2 separate regions of the Homo sapiens genome follow, and region 1 is linked to region 2. The links are contacts of gene promoters, found by promoter capture Hi-C in blood cells and fetal thymus (Javierre and others, 2016). All regions are on one chromosome and are shown on one strand. The core of a region is centred on a gene start or on the middle of the fragment in contact, and the rest is flanking DNA. Distances in the headings are between cores, read along the strand shown.

Evidence for each region. The method cuts DNA at HindIII sites, captures the fragments that hold promoters and counts their contacts. A CHiCAGO score of 5 or more calls a contact.
Region 1: a contact is called between a fragment that was not itself captured here and the fragment with the promoter of MAPT in region 2, in 4 of 17 cell types (M1 macrophages, endothelial precursors, megakaryocytes and 1 more). The highest score is 6.6, in M1 macrophages.

The regions. Positions count from the first base shown.
Region 1 is chr17:45,629,010-45,631,899 of GRCh38, reverse strand. It overlaps LINC02210-CRHR1 (LINC02210-CRHR1 readthrough), which reads right to left. Exons shown (of 15, transcript NM_001256299.3): 3 at 1,742-1,996. It overlaps LINC02210 (long intergenic non-protein coding RNA 2210), which reads right to left. Exons shown (of 6, transcript NR_138260.1): 3 at 1,742-1,996; 4 at 1,582-1,654; 5 at 1,294-1,411. Among named protein-coding and RNA genes, the nearest start is that of LINC02210-CRHR1, 10 kb to the right of the region's middle. The HindIII fragment of the contact is 1,886 bases long and covers 543-2,428 here.
Region 2 is chr17:45,893,207-45,896,109 of GRCh38, reverse strand. It overlaps MAPT (microtubule associated protein tau), which reads right to left and starts at 1,556. Exons shown (of 13, transcript NM_001377265.1): 1 at 1,424-1,556. It overlaps MAPT-AS1 (MAPT antisense RNA 1), which reads left to right and starts at 597. Exons shown (of 2, transcript NR_024559.1): 1 at 597-630. It overlaps MAPT-IT1 (MAPT intronic transcript 1), which reads right to left and starts at 327. Exons shown (of 1, transcript NR_024560.1): 1 at 1-327. RefSeq lists enhancers at 1-727, 728-1,613. The HindIII fragment of the contact is 3,093 bases long and covers 1-2,903 here.

The sequences.
Region 1 (2,890 bases), core at 236-2,735, 260 kb after region 2:
GCGATCTTGGCTCACTGCAAGCTCCGCCTCTCGGGTTTGCACCATTCTCCTGCCTCAGCCTCCCGAGCAGCTGGGACTACAGGCGCCCGCTACCGTACCCGGCTAATTTTTTGTATTTTCAGTAGAGACAAGGTTTCACCATGTTAGCCAGGATGGTTTCGATCTCCTGACCTTGTGATCCGCCCGCCTCGGCCTCCCAAAGTGCTGGGATTACAGGCGTGAGCCACCGCGCCCGATCAGCAGTATCTTTGTTATCATAGCGGGCCCACACCTCTAAGTTGATGCTAACAAGGTGACTCAGAGTGGGCCCCTAGATAGTGGATGCTAACAAGATCACCTCTGGGGAAATGAGGGTGCTAAAGTTTGAGTCACATGGCCAATGATTCAATCAATCGTACCTATGCAAGGAAGCCCCAATAAAAATGACAAATACTGAAGCTCAGGAGCACGTCCCTGGTTGGCAATACTCTATACATTGTCACGCATCGATGTGCTGGAAAGGTAACAGCCCCTGACTCCACGGGGAGAGAACAATGAAAGCTTTGCGTTTGGTGTCCTCCCAGATCTATGTGTCTTTCCCTTTGACTGGTTCATTTATATCCTTTTGCTTTATTGATCAATTAATAAAACTGTAGTTGTAAGCATAGCATGTCCCTGAATTCTGTGAATCATTCTGACAAGTGATCAAACCTGAGGGGGTAGTGGAAATCGCCAAATTTGTAGCCATCTGGCCAGAAGTGAGGGTGGGCTGAGGACCCCCAAACCTGTTGCCAGCTGGTGGCTGAAGTTGGGGATTCTTGTGGAGGATGGTGCCCTCAACCTGTGAAATAAAGTCCAACTCCAGGGGGTTGGTGCCGGAAGTCTCTGCAGCATTCCATACTATAGCATCAAATACATCCCAAAAAGTAAAAGATACCTGGGGCAGGCCAAAGAAAGGCACCACCCCATCACACCTGAGTGAAGGTGACCAAAACCTGCACAGACCCAGTCACTGCTACATTGGCTGGAGGAAGCTGTGGGGCCAAAAGCATCTCCAGGGAGGGGCACAGGTGGCATCCAACACACCCTCCAAGCACAAGAAGGGGAGACGCCTTTGGCAGTAGTTCATGTGACATTAATGATAACAACAATCTGTCAGCCAGGTGTGGTGGCTCAGGCCTGTAATCCCAGCACTTCAGGAAGCCAAGGTGGGCAGATGACTTGAGGTCAGGGGTTCGAAACCAGCCAGGCCAACTTGGCAAAACCCCATCTCTACTAAAAATACAAAAATTAGCCAGGCGTGGTGACGCGTACCTGTGATCCCAGCTACTGGGGGGGCTGAGGTAAAAGAATTGCTTGAACCCGGGAGGCAGCAGTTGCAGTGAGCTGAGATGGTGCCACTGCACTCCAGCTTAGGTGACAGAGTGAGAACCTGTCTCGGAAAAAACAAAAAACAAAACAAAACAAAATTTGTGTTTGGCTAAGAGTAAGCCCTTAACACAAAAATGTGAAGTGGCTGCCAAAAGAACAGTTTGATCCTAGGCTGCATCACCAGTAGTGACGGGGTCTCAGTTCCTAGGACATGGGTGATACCAGGCTTACTCTACATCAGTCAGAACATCCTGGGAACGTTATATGGGCAGTGCTGGATCCCACACTCTGAGACCGGGGCAAACTGAAAAAATTCAAAAAATGATCAGGAGAGCAAAGGCATTAGACACTAGGCCATATGAAGAACAGCTGCTATAATTGGAGATTTTACCTGGAGAAAAGAGTCACGTAGCGGCTGATGGCTATCTTCAAGTAGCTGAAAGTCTATGATGTAAAGAGGATTTAAGCGTTTTATAGAGCTCTGTGAGGTGGACTGAAGATCAGTGGTGAAAACTACAGAAGTCAGCCTAGCAGAGTGTCAGCAGATGAAGATGCAATGGCTGCCTCAGAAGGCACTCCTGTCACTGGAGATACTTGTTTGTGCACAACTTCAGCCACAATTCATGGGGACCCTGCAGAAGAGACCCTGGAAGGAAAATAGTAGCAGGATAAGATGACTTCTTGGTTTCCTTTGACCATGAGATTTCACGACTATGTCTAGGAGAGTAAACCAGTGCCGGCCCTCTTCCCTTTCCCTCCGTGCCTCCCAGGCCCACTCAACAGCTGCCTGAACCAACGGCAACAGAGCAGCCTACTATGGCTGATAGAGAGCTCCCGCAGCTTCGGCATGTTTGGGGCTTGCATGTGAGTCAATGTCATGTCTGCTACATCATATCAGATTAAAAAATGAAAAACATTCAAAACTCCCCCGAAGATTTCATATGCTATCAGCAAGTTCTGGTCTCTCGTCGTAACTAAGCAAGCCAGATTATCCAGAAATTTGAGATCCTTAGTCACCAATGCAGAACTGACAGGGAGGAAGCTGCCATATTATCCCTTTGCCATTCCTAAAAAAGCTTTGTAATATTAGGTACCATTTTATACTATCTTTATATAGGTCCTTACCTAAGAACCTAACATCAGACTGGTCCTACATCTGAACTAAGAGAACCTACAAAAAGCATATTTACAGCCGGGCGCAGTGGCTCATGCCTGTAATCCCAGCACTTTGGGAGGCCGAGGCGGGTGGATCACCTGAGGTCGGGAGTTCAAGACCAGCCTGACCAACATGGAGAAACCCCATCTCTACTAAAAATACAAAATTAGCTGGGCGTGGTGGCACACGCCTGTAATCCCAGCTACTCGGGAGGCTGAAGCAGGAGAATCGCTTGAACCTGGGAGGCAGAGGTTGCAGTGAGCCGAGATCGCACCATTGCACTCCAGCCTGGGCAACAAGAGTGAAACTCCATCTCAAAAAAAAAAAAGTATATTTACACATGAATAGTATACTACTAATGTGTTTTTTAATGGGAATATATGT
Region 2 (2,903 bases), core at 307-2,806:
CAATGGGCTCGGAAATGAGGAGCGAAAAAGGAAAGAGAGGCGCATGGGCGTAGGGGGGAGGTTGACTGAACACCCTCAGAATAAAAGCCAGAAACCAGGGCTGGGAGCGCAGATCACGTAACCTCTACAGACAAAGCAAAGAGCCCCCGAAGAAGGTGCTGGGCGAACGCCCCCAGTGCTCACGCCCGCAGCAGCAAAACGCCAAGATTTCAGCGCTGATTGTCCCCCTCCCTTTAATGCCAGGCCCCGCCCTGTCCTATGAAGCCCGGCCACCCGGTTTGGCATGGCACCGTAAAGACGTGACACGCCGAAAAAAGATGGCACCTCGCGTTCCGAGGGGGAAAAAAAGGGGGGCTGGGGGCGGGAGTGGGAGGAGGCACAGCCTATCCTCCCCCTTCCTCGCCCACCAGGGTCCACACCCACTGCCGCAGTGAGGGGCGAGCCCTGCGCGCCAGCCCCGCGCCTCCGGCAGGGAGCGCACACGCCGGGCGCCCTGCGCTCCGAGCGCTGAGAAAGAAATCCGCCCCGAGATGCACCTGCAGCCCCGCGCCCATCCGTGCGTGGCTGCGGCTGTGCGTGCCCGCGAACGGGGACCAGCGGCCGCCGAGTCCGTCCACATCGCCAGGCCAGGTGAACCCTGCCTTTGCGAGCGTGCACAGTGGGATCCGCGCACTGTTCTCAGGCACGGCGCTGCTCGCGTCTCTGTGCCAGGCGTGCGCAGGGGGAAGGGCAACTAAAGTGACAGCGCGTGGACCCCTCCCCATCTCCTCGATTTCTCCCAGCCCCCAAATGTCCCCTACGGGTTTCTGAAGGAGGAAAAGGGGAGGGGGCCGGCCCCCGCCTAAAATCAGGGGCAGTGAAGGCCCTGTCGGAATCACTGCTCGGGAGGTGCAGGGAGGGGCGTGCAGGGAGTCATCTTTTCTAGAACCCGATCCACGTCTTTCTTAGAGCTGATGGCGAACAGCGGCAGGGACAGCGGATTTCAGATTCGGTTTCGGGGGTCGTTATCGGACCCCTCCACACACACACACACACACACACACACACACACACACACACACGCCCATTGCGGCAAAAGGCTGCAGTCGAGAGTGAAGGGCAGCCCCCTCCCCCAAGTCACCGCCGCCGCGCCCCACCCTGCCGGCACAGCCTCCACCTGGGGTCTGCGCGAATCTGGTGGTGAAGACCCTCCAGCACACACACACGCGCGCACTCACGCGTGCGTGCATCCCTTGCTCAGGTCCCTTTCCAGGCCGCCCTGGCCCCAGCCCCCGAGCAGGGGAGGCAGGGAGGGGCCCTGCGGTGGCCCCGACCGATGCCCGGCGCACGAAGCCCCAGTCTGCGGAGAGGGAGGGCGAGGGGCGGCGGCGCAGGGGTGCACAGAGGCGGACGGCGAGGCAGATTTCGGAGCCGCGGCGCTTACCTGATAGTCGACAGAGGCGAGGACGGGAGAGGACAGCGGAGGAGGAGAAGGTGGCTGTGGTGGCGGCGGCAGAAGGTGGGCGGTGGCAGCGGCGCTGCTGTTGGTGCCGGAGCTGGTGGGTGGCGGTGACTGCGAGGGCGCGCGCCGGCGAAGAGGGCGCGTTCCTGAGGCCGGCGGGCGGCGCAGGCGCGAGCAGCGGGAACGCGAGCCTCCCCAGGGGAGGGGGCGGGCAGCGCGGCCTCCGCGGGAGCCTTCTCCTCCGGCCACTAGTGGGCGCGCGCGAGCGCCCTGCCGCTCGGCCGTCCGGCGTCTCCCGGCTCGTTCCTCTCGGCGCTGCCCTTTCGCGGTCCCCCTCCCGCTACGCCTCAGGCCGCGGCGCTGACCGCAGCGCGCACGCGCGTTCCGTGGCGCACGCGCTTTCTCCACCTCCTGTAGTTGGAGTCTTTGTGTCGTTGCGGGGGTGGGTGTCCTCCTTCGGGCCATGCGGGGTCGGGGCAAGGCCAGTGGCTCCGCCGCTGGGTCCGCTGCCCTTTACTTTCAGTCAGCCTGGGGCGGTGTCCTCTCCTACAGAAGTCCTGAGCGGCCTTCCACGTGGCCGGCCCTCGAGTCCGTCCGCCCCGACCCTTCGTAGTCCCGAAACCGCCCCCCTGGCTAAGGTCTCTTTCCCCCAGGCTGCTTCCTTTCTCCTTGCTTTTTTCCCACCTTTTTTGTTACTGACCAAGGTGAATCCTTTCCTTAACAAATCGGCTTAAAGCAAGCTAACTCAGTTACAATACAGTAGAACTGTACTTAAAAAAAAAGAAACGTGAATCTAACCGTTACGTCAGAAAAAAAAATCTTAAATTAGACGAATTTCAAACAGTGCTTAACACATCGCAGAGCATTTGCAGTTATTTGTATCACGTCTTTTGAAACACCTTTATGCTGTAAATAGAGCTTGAAGTCTGAATGTTTAAGGGCCAGCTAGAGATTGTCCCCTGGAAGACGCACCTCAGCCTGAAACTGACCAGTGGTCCTCATTCTGCTGGTCGCCCAGGCCCCAGGCTTCGGCCTTAGCTTGGATTTTTCATTTCCCCAACATCAAGTTTAAGCCCAAGCAGTGGGATGATTTCTATGTAGGGGGGTTTAGGGCAGCCATCTCCTCCTAGGGAGATGGGAAGTTGTCTTGAAGCTCCAATTTGCATAGCTCTTATATTCTTTTTAAAAAATCAACATATGTTATAGATTAATAGAAAAAGCAAGTAAAATGCTTTATTCACACAGTTTCTGGAACTGACCTTTTTCTCCTTTTTTTTTTTAAATGCATATTAACTTTATTTTTAAACAGAGGGGCATATACCCAAAGAAGTAGGAGTGAGAACCACCATGGGGGCTTGCTCAAAGCAATCTGCCCTAGCCTTCTGACTACAGAATGTCTCATGAGCCAATGGCCTGGAGATGGAGCTGCCCCTTGATGGTGTACACCTTAGAAAAGTCAGTG